3 separate regions of the Homo sapiens genome follow, and regions 2 and 3 are each linked to region 1. Evidence: promoter capture Hi-C in 16 types of primary human blood cells and fetal thymus (Javierre and others, 2016). All regions are on one chromosome and are shown on one strand. Each heading gives the region's core, a stretch centred on a gene start or on the middle of the fragment in contact. The rest is flanking DNA. Distances are from core to core; before and after follow the strand shown. Region 1 holds the start of CLECL1 (C-type lectin like 1). Region 2 overlaps LINC02446 (long intergenic non-protein coding RNA 2446). Region 3 has its middle 9.0 kb from the start of M6PR.

The links. The method cuts DNA at HindIII sites, captures the fragments that hold promoters and counts their contacts. A CHiCAGO score of 5 or more calls a contact.
Region 2: a contact is called between a fragment that was not itself captured here and the fragment with the promoter of CLECL1 in region 1, in 1 of 17 cell types (neutrophils). The highest score is 5.3, in neutrophils.
Region 3: a fragment that was not itself captured here is called in contact with the fragment with the promoter of CLECL1 in region 1 in 1 of 17 cell types (activated CD4 T cells); the score reaches 6.6 in activated CD4 T cells.

What each region holds. Positions count from the first base shown.
Region 1 is chr12:9,731,230-9,734,705 of GRCh38, reverse strand. CLECL1 (C-type lectin like 1) reads left to right here and starts at 1,609. Exons shown (of 2, transcript NM_001441815.1): 1 at 1,609-1,757. The coding sequence starts at 1,676. The HindIII fragment of the contact is 6,540 bases long and covers 1-3,476 here.
Region 2 is chr12:10,561,490-10,564,965 of GRCh38, reverse strand. The region is part of intron 1 of LINC02446 (long intergenic non-protein coding RNA 2446); the gene reads right to left. Among named protein-coding and RNA genes, the nearest start is that of LINC02446, 9.8 kb to the right of the region's middle. The HindIII fragment of the contact is 2,885 bases long and covers 499-3,383 here.
Region 3 is chr12:8,956,877-8,960,352 of GRCh38, reverse strand. It overlaps a transcript of KLRG1 not described here. Among named protein-coding and RNA genes, the nearest start is that of M6PR, 9.0 kb to the right of the region's middle. RefSeq lists an enhancer at 3,325-3,476. The HindIII fragment of the contact is 4,249 bases long and covers 1-3,476 here.

The sequences.
Region 1 (3,476 bases), core at 360-2,859:
ATGCCTTTGGGAGGCTGAGGCGGGCAGATCACGAGGTCAGGAGATCGAGACCACCGTGAAACTCGTCTCTACTAAAAATACAAAATATTAGCCGGGCGTGGTGGCGGGCGCCTGTAGTCCCAGCTACTCGGGAGGCTGAGGCAGGAGAATGGCATGAACCCGGGAGGCAGAGCTTGCAGTGAGCCGAGATCGCGCCACTGCACTCCAGCCTGGGTGACAGAGTGAGACTCCGTCTCAAAAAAAAAAAAATTATTGGTTATGCAACCACCTGCAGATAATAAAACCTCTAAAAGTCAGTTTTTCATGTATGTAGTAGGTATTGTCTAGTCACATACAAACAGTTGGAACAGCCCAGAAAAGGGAGAGAGTGTCATGCAGTCTTAAGAGACAGAGGTCGGTGCTCAAGCCTCATCCAGGGTCAGAAGTTGGTCTTTATAGGAGGGATCCCTAAATGCCACAAAGCCAGGATCTGTTCTCTAGTTATTTAATTAACCTAAGTTAAATTTCTTGGATGAGGGGTAGGGATGGGGTGACTGCAGTTTAGATTAATTCTGCAGAATGCACTTGAGTGGGTATTGAAAAAACCAGTTTTTCCATATGCAGATTTCCAGTTAATCTACTAGTCATAAGCTAATGGATCCTGCCATTTTTCATATCTGACATTTCTATGTCCTATGACGGTTTCACAGGTAGCTAGGCTCTCCTCCATTATTTCCCTCTGTATGGTGTTGGCTGCATTTTTCTCTGATTTTACTTCTTCATCAATGATCACATCTCCATCTACTCTCCATTTTCCAGGAATTAGTTGAAATTTTTCATCAACTAATAGGACCCTGAGCCTTTGTGTTATTGTTTTAGACTAACAAATTTTTATTCACTTAATTCAATTTTAGTGGAATTTTAGAAGAAATAGGAGATAAAATCTATGTTTGCTATGTTGTATTCGATAGTAAATTTCTGAACACCTCATTTTAAAATTAGATTTTTTTCTTTTATGTCATTACCTTGAATTATTTTAACAGAGTTATTTCTGTTTCTTAAATATATATTTTTTAGTTCAGAAGTCCTCTGCATAATTCATGTTTTACCTCAGTTTAATGTTAATATTATAAAGCATACAGGAAAGCAAATAGCTTTCAGAATTTTTAAGGTATTATCTAGACAATACAATGCATTTAGAGAGGAGGATAAAAGACATAGGGCCCCTTTCTGTAACTTTCGTAATAAAATCCCTTCTTTTTCTTGTTCTGTTTCCCAAATAGCTATCCTACTTTGGAGAAGATGCTGGAAATTCAGAGTTTCCGCCAGAGAATATATGCCTGAACTAAAAGAGGAAGTGGTCTATAGGAGAAAATGGTGAGATATCTTCTGTGGTATTAATAAAAGTTAAAAGCATTTCAAGTTTAGGCAGAAAACTAACTGAAAAACGAGAACCTACTGTATGGTTAGTAATTTCTTCCATGTCATACAAGTATTCGAGAAATCTGCTACCTTGATTAGTAAGACTGAACACATTGGTTTTGTCATTTATTCATGGAGGAAGTCCACCACCCACTTGGGGAGCAGAAGGAAATTTGCCATCTCAATTTACTTATCAGAAGTTTCTTTGCAGAAATATGATTGTCCCTTCAGTGGGACATCATTTGTGGTCTTCTCTCTCTTTTTGATCTGTGCAATGGCTGGAGATGTAGTCTACGCTGACATCAAAACTGTTCGGACTTCCCCGTTAGAACTCGCGTTTCCACTTCAGAGATCTGGTAAGCTGGATTTAGGGTGCCTTTGAGAATTAAGATTTTACTAGTTATCTCCTTTATTTCTTTCTTATGTATCTAATTGCCAAACTGAAAAGAGGAGATTGGATTCAAAGCAAAATTCATTGAATGCTAAGAATAAGAGCGAATGTTTTTAATGAAGCAAAATGTCTGTTCATAAAATAAATTGCCACTTTGGTTTTAATATGTAGAACTTTGCTTCTGTTTTCATAGCCTTTCTATTTCTTGATTTCTCGTGATGAATGTTTATATTCACACAGCAACTTCTAGCGGGATCACGCCTTTCTGCTCCACAGCTTTGCTCACTCTCAATCAAATCTGACCTTTTAACATAATGTGATAAATTCATCTCCACTGGGAAAAATACCTGTGGCAATTTACTCATATTGTTATTTATTCTTTTACAATATCAATAGGATAAAAATGTAAACTTAAGAAAACATGAAACGTTAGATTTAATTTTATAAAGTCTAGAATTAATGACTAGGTAATTGAATATTTCTGGAATCAGAGGCGATAAGCATATGCCTAAACTTAACATGGTGCCTTCATCACCAAACCCCCTCAAAAATTATAGATTTTCATAGCCAGTGTCTTTTCTATTCTTTGAAGTATTAAGGAAATTTCTCTGTCTTGTTACATTTCCATTCTCTGCTCTAGGGTAAGAATTTTTGTAGCATAGAGTTTATGTAGGTGTTTTAAATAATTTAAAGTTCCTCCTTTGTATTTGCCCTTGTGGAATGAATCTGCTACTTTGTTCGTATTTCCAAGGAATGTATTTCTTCTTTATATTTTCAAAAGTTTATAGTTATCAAAGGAATCTAGTGTGTGTCCTTTTCTGGTTGTAAAAGCATCTTGTTTCTTATTTTAAACCTTACCTCTCTATTTTACCCAGCAGAGGCTAACTTGCTTTCTTTTCTTCCAGCTTAGGCACTTTCACTTCCTATGAAATAGTGAAACATAATTTGAAAAATAACATGGACTAGAACTGCACTGTCATTCCCCTATGCTTCAAAAATGTCCTGTAGTTAGTTTCTTTTTCTAGAGGTTATTTTACTCAGTTTAAGCAACAAAACCAATATTTTTGATTCCGCATTCCAGGGTTTAATTGCCTTTCTGTCTATGGTTTGAACTTTTATAAATAAAACCTTATTCTTTTCCCAGTTTAGGGATGTGGGGCAACATCTTTTAATGTGATCTAGTTCAATCTTAGAATGCTAAAAATGAGAAAACGAACTATATGAAGATTAAATTACCTACCTATAGTCATGCTTATGACCAGAAGTCAAATATCATATTGTTCTTGTGCTGTATACGTGTGGTGTTAGATAAACGCAACTTTTGTTCTCATGCGTCACTTCGCCATCAAGCGAAAGAGCTGTTGGATAGATTAGATTTTTGTTGTCTTACATACAGAGTCCTACACAATTGTTCCTGATCTCTTCTAACCTCATACCTTTCACTGATTTTGCTCTGGCTATTGGCCTTTTCTTTTCTCCTAAAGGTTGTCATATTCCTTACCATTTCAGAGCCTCATAAAATGCTGAATCTTTCTACATAATCTATTAATCTTTGTGTTTCTAGCACCTCACACCGTACTAAATATAGAGCAGGAAATTAATAGATGCTTGATAAGTAAAATAATTTATAAATGGCTGAATAAATAAATGAATCGCATTAGACGATGAATGTATATATGTATGC
Region 2 (3,476 bases), core at 692-3,191, 830 kb before region 1:
TAAAGACACATGTACATGTATGTTTATGGCAGCACTGTTCACAATAGCAAAAACTTGGAACCAACCCAAATGTCCATCAATAATAGACTGGATAAAGAAAATGTGGCACATATACACCATAAAATACTAAGCAGCCATAAAAAAGGATGAGTTCCCGTCCTTTGCAGGGACATGGATGAAGCTGGAAACCATCATTCTCAGCAAAGCAACACAGGAACAGAAAGTCAACCACCACATGTTCTCACTCATAAGTGGGAGTTGAACAATGAGAATACATGGACACAGGGAGGCAAACATCACACACCAGGGCCTGTCAGAGGGTGGGGGGCTAGGGGAGGGATAGCATTAGGAGAAATACCTAATGTAGATGACGGGTCGATGGGTGCAGCAAACCACCATGGCACGTGTATACCTATGTAACAAACCTGCACGTTCTGCACATGTATCCCAGAACTTAAAGTATAATTCAAAAATAATAATAATAATGAAAAGGAAGCTTACTACAAAACTTTCATTTCTCTTTTCCTAGGATATAGAATTTCTAAGTGGCCCTTAAATAATACAATAAAGCATACATAATTTGTAATAATCCTAACATAAAATATCAGTATATAATAGAGATAGGATAATACATAATGAAATGTTGGTTGAGACTTGAAACGTATCATTTATGATGGAGATATTAGGTTATAAAAATCCAAAAACATGTGAAAGATGAGAATTTGAAATGTCTTATTTTTATAACAAAAGAAGTTTAACTCTAAAATAGGAGATGACTTCATGGCCTGCAGCTGGAGTTAATTATCGTGGCAAAAACAAACGGGTCCCAAACTGACTAAAAATCAGTTGCTTGACCAGCCATTTACTGAAATATTTTGCTTATTGGTCTAGGGAGATCACTACAAGCCCAGAAAGATGTAAAAGGATGCATTAATACAACTAATGGAAGTTATCAAGTGGAATTATAGCCTTAGAGAAGAATAAAAATTATAGGAATAACAAAAGAAATGAAGTTTAAAAACTATTGTTATATTTTAGGATAGGTTTAAGAGTAAGCAATAGGTTTTGTAATAATTTTCTTTGGGTATATTTGCTACTTAAGGTGTTTGAGGTGCTCAAAAGACTTAGCTTAACTAAATCTGTAATTGTAGTTTAAATTTGTATAGGACTTAAGTAATTTTGTATAGGACTTGAGTAATTATGTTGAAATCACTATTCAAATGTTTGAATAGCTTTCTTTCTTTTTTTTATTTTTTTAAGACAGGGTTTCTTGCTCTGTCACCCAGGCTGGAGTGCAATGGGCGATCTTGGTTCACTGCAGCCTCCACCTCCCGACTTCAAGTGATTCTCCTGCCTCAGTCTCCTGAGTAGCTGGGATTACAGGCATGGGCCACCATGCCTGGCTAATTTCTGTATTTTTAGTAGAGATGGGGTTTCACCATGTTGGCTAGGCTGATCTTTGAACTCCTGTCCTCAAGTGATCCGTCCACCTCAGCCTCCCAAAATGCTGGGATTACAGGCATGAGCCACCAGGCCAGGCTCAAATTCTTTTTATTAGTTAATTAGTTAACTATTTGTGTGTAACAAATTACTAAATTATCCCACAACTTATGCTTTTTTTGGGTCAGGAATCCAGCCATGGGTGACTCTGACTTAGAGTTTCTCACAAGGATGCCTTTGGGGTGTGGGTGAGGGCTACAGTCATCTGAAGGCTCAGTTGGGGCAGACTCATATGCAGCCTCATGCACATGCTGTTGGCTGGTGTGAGGTCCTCACTCACTGTTAACAGGAGAAATGTCAATGCCTTGCCTCATAGACCTCTCCATAGAGCTACTCACTTCATGGCAGTTTGTTATTCTGTTTTCTGCTGGGGACGTGTATGTGGGAGAGGGGAGTGGGAGAGAAAGAGGGAGAGAAAGAGAAACAGAGATGCCAACTTGAGCACACACTCTGGGAAGAAGATTATACAATGGCATGAATACCAAGAAGTGGAATGATGACTGGAGTTATTTTAGAGAAAGTCAACCACAATTACATATCATACATTTGATAAAAATGATTCAAATGACAAATATTAGTAAATATTAGTCACCACTTGTGAAAGCCTTTGGTAAAATTTATAGTGGTAAATTTGCATTATGTATCCCCATTAAACTACACATTCCTGGAAATCATGCATGGAGACTTCATCTTTTTCATCAGCAGGGAATAGTACTACCATGTGGTAGGTACTCCAAAAACTCAGGTTGAAGAGATGAATGAATGAGCATTGTTTGAGTTTGTAATCTTCATTTTACATGGCTCCTGATAATTTTTAGAAATCCAAACAGCAAGAATGCTTTCTGACAACGTATAAGACTTGTGCTATTTGCCATCACCTTATAAATTTAATTTTGCTCATTACAGTTTTCAAAAGGTTTTTCACTTCTGATTCTGTAATTTTGTACTAGGCCACCAGATGGCATCACCACATAAACCAAGCTCTAAAATCAAGGCTTATTTGAAAATTAGTCTTGCTGGTCAGAATGAAGTAATAACTATATTCTCATAAACTGCTGTAGCAAATGTTAGTAGATAACTACTGCACACAAATTTAGCAAAATATATTGATAACCTTAAAAAATGGTAGTACTTTTTGAGCCAATGAGTCTACTAGAAATCTATCTTCAGAAAATAATGTGGACAAAATGGTACACACTCAAGATTTTACCTTAGCATTATTGGAATTGTCAAATACCAGGTAAAATCTTGGGTCCAACAATAATGAAAGGGTTAGTATATATGATACAATCATACAATTAAAAAACATACACACTTTCAAATGACTTATGAAGTATTCAATGACATGAGAAATGCTTCTGGCATAATGCTAATTTATGAATTGGGTTGTAAACTAATGTGTGATTCCCAGTATGTTGCATAGAAATTATAGAAAGGAAACATATTAATGTAATTTTATAAGGAAGTGTTTTTCTCTCTTCATATTTCTCCTTGTTACTCCAATTTTTAACAATGACTCCTTGGAACATCATATGTTAATAAGAAAAAATCAAGTTAACAATAACATAACATTAGTTTTTTAGGGCTGGGCATGGTGGCTCACTCCTGTAATCCCAGCCCTTTGGGAGGCTGAGGCAGGTGGATCACCTGATATCAGGAGTTTGAGACTAGCCTGGCCAACATGATGAAACCCCATCTCTACCAAAAAATACTAAAGTTAGCTGTGTGTGGTGGCTCACACCTGTAGTCCCAGCTTACTCAGGAGGCTGAGGCAGCAGAATCCCTTCAATTTGGGAGGCTGAGATTGCAGTGAGCTAAGAAGGCACCATTGCACTCCAGCCTGGGCCACAGAGCAAGACTCTGTGTCAAATAAATTAAAAGCTTTTTAGTACTTATAATTTAAAATTGTTTGTCTTCTACTATGTTAAACCATAAAAATATGCATTCATTCAGCCAGGCATGGTGGTTCATGCCTA
Region 3 (3,476 bases), core at 655-3,154, 770 kb after region 1:
TAGTTATCTAGAGCTCACTCTTTGCGCATCTCTCTTTTCTCTGGTACTCTGACCCACAAATCTTAGTCTTTGCCTTAGTCTTCTCAAACTCCACACTCTCTCCCTCTGAAGCTCAGTGAAACTGGCAGGCTCTGTCTGGGTTCCCCCTTCCTGCACTGCACCTTGGATAGTCTCTCCATGCATTAAGTAGGGGGAATTGTGGGGCTCGCCTAACTTATTCCCCTCCTCTCAGGAATCACTGTCTTGTGTTACCTGTTGTCCAATATCAGGAAGCCATTGTTCCATATATTTTCCCAGTTTGCCAGTTGTTTAAGATAGAAGAATAAATCCAGTCCCAGTTATACCATCATGAACAGAATCCAGAAGTCTGAAAATAGATATTAAACTAGCAGACAAATTCATTGTCTAAATATAAAATCCTAACAAATCTAAAAAGCAACTGCCAAAATAAGTGGCAAACTAACAGAATACAGTTACAAATACAAAAACCAATTGTGTTTCTACATACTACCAGTAAACATTCACAAAATAAATTTTTCACAATAACTTCAGTTATAAAAGCATCAAAAAATAAAGCACTTCAGGACAAATGTAACGAAAGACACGTAAGTCCTCTACACTGAAAACTGTAAAACATTGCTGAAAAAAATTAAGGCCTACATAAATAGAGTTGTACCCTATTTGTCATAGCCCGAGGGGTTCTTCTTGCCTGCTGCCCTGAAAAAAACAATGAGAACAGCAGGTGTTGCAGCAAAGAGTTTAATAATTGCAGGGCCAGCCAAGTGAGGAGAACGACAGACACTTTTCAAACTCATCCCCCCAAGAGTTCAGAGGCTAGAGTTTTTTAACTACTACTTTGGCAGGCAGGGGGCTGGAGAACTGAAACAACGGATTGGCTGGGGATGAAATTGCAGGGGTGTCTAAAACCATTTTCACACAGCCAGGTCATTTCCTGGGAAGCGGTCTCAGGACGAAGTGGCATCTCTTGGTCTCCTGAAATGCTAAATCTGAAAAATGTCTCAAAGACCAGTTCTTCAGGTTTTACAATAGTAATATTACCTACAGGAGAAGTTGGAGAAGCTCTAAATCTTGCGACCCCAGATACAAGACTCTGGGGCAGTAAGCAACTTATATAACAAAAACAAGCTAAGTAATGGCGGGTCATTGTTCAACTATGTCTATTCTTCAGCAAAGTTCAAGCCCCTACCATAATTTTAACTTTGTTTTATGAATGTGGTTTTAACTGTAAACTAAATTCCTCTTATAGTTATCTTGGCCCCCACATTAGAATGGACAAAAAAACAATTTAACTTGAGAGGTTGGAAGCAAGATGGAGTCAACCATATTAGACTTCTCTCATTACTTATAGTTCTGCAAAGGTGGTTTCATATTCATGAATTATAAGACTCAACATTAAGATGTCAATTTTCCCCAAATTTATCTACAGATTCATATCAACCCCAATTGTAACCCCAGCAGGATTTTTTTTTTTTTTTGATACAGGGTATCACTCTGTTGTCCAGGCTGGAGTGCAGTGGTGCAACCACGGCTCTCTGAAGCCTTGACCTCCTGGGCTCAAGCGATCCTCCCACTTTAGCCTCCCAAGTAGCTGGGACCATAGGCACAAGCCACCACGCTCAGCTAATTCTTAGGTTTTTTTGTAGAGACAGAGTCTCACCATGTTGCCCAAGCTGGTTTGAAATCCTGAGCCCAAGTGATCCTCCCATCTCAGCCTCCCAAAGTGCTGAGATTACACACGTGAGCCACTATGCCTTGCCCCAGCAGGATTTTTTAACAGAAATTGACAGGTTGCTTTTAAAGTGTATATGGAAATGCAAAGGACCTAGAATAGCCAAAACAATCTTGAAAAGAGAAGAAAGACTTATAATACCTTTCTTCAAGACTTAATATAAAACTAGAAGAATCAGGAGTGTGTTATTAGCTTAATAATAAAGATATCAACTAAACAGAATTAAGTCCAGAAACAGAACTACATTTATACAATCAACTGATTCTCAACAAAGCTCTGACGCAATTAAGAGAGGAAAAATAGTCAAACAATGTTATAGGAAGTCATTATATATCCATATGGGGAAAAAAAGGAACCTCAGTGCTACCTCAACTATACACAAAAATTAACTCAAAATAGATCACAGACCGGGCACACTGGTTCATGCTTGTAATCCCAACACTTTGGGAGGCCATGTTGGGAGAAGAGCTTGAGGCCAGGAGTTTGAGACCAGCCTGGGTACTATAGCAAGAGCCTGTCTCTAAAAAAATTTAAAAATAAATTACAGACATAAACATAAAACTATAAGGCTTCTTAGAAGAAAATACAGATAGAACCCAAACGCCCATCAAAAGGGAATGAATAAGATGAGAAATACGATAGTTCCCCACCCTTATCTGCAGGTGTGCTTTCTACAATTTCAGTTACCAGTAGTCAACCGAGGTCTGAAAATATCAGATGAAAAATTCCAGAAATAAACTACTCATAAGTTTTACATTGCATGCTGTTCTGAGTACTGTGATAAAATCTTGCACTGTCCTGCTCCATCCCACCTGGGACATAAATCACCCCTTCATCCAGTGGAAACACGCTGGGGACACTCCCTGCCCGTTAGTGTCCCTCTCAGTTATCAGATTGACTGCCACAGTACTGCAGTGCAAGTAACTCTTATTTTACTTAATAATGGCCACAAAGCGCAAGAGTAGTAATGCTGGCTATGCAGACATGCCAAAGAGAAGTGTAAAGTGCTTCCTTTAAATAAAAAGGTGAAGGTTCTTGACTTACTAAAAAAAAACAAAAAACAAAAAAACAAAACAAAACAAACAAACAAACAAAAAACAAAACAAGTATTCCGAGGTTGCTAACATCTATGGTAAGAATAAATCCTCTATCTGTTAAATTGTGAAGAAGGGAAAAGAATGTGTGCTAGTTTTGCTGTTGCAACTCAAACTGCAGAAGTTACTGCCATGGGCCACGGTAAGTGCTTCGTTAAGACAGAAAAGGCATTAAATTTGTGGGTGGAAGATATGAACAGAAACATATTCTCATTGAAGGCAACTGGGTTAGATGCTGTCTACAGCAGGGGCCTTGGAACATGTCCCCTGAGGAGAAGGGAGGGCTACTGTATTCATAAAATGTAATACTACCCCACCAAAACACAAAACAAAACCTACTACTGATACATACAAGTTCACAGATATTACAGTGAAAGAAATCAAACAAATGCAAAAGGAACATGCTATTGACACAGGATTTTTTGGTGGTGTTCCACAGCCAGAGACCTCCACGGCCGGGGGGGCCCTGCTCAAGATCAAGATTCACTCGTGACCACTGGGCTGGCTCCACCCACTGGGCTTGGCAGGCTGTGCTTGGCTCTTGGCTAGCGGTACTGGCCCAGATCTCACACCCACCAAGGGCAAGCCAGGTATGCTAGCTGCTACAGCAGGGCATCACCTCCAGGCACCAG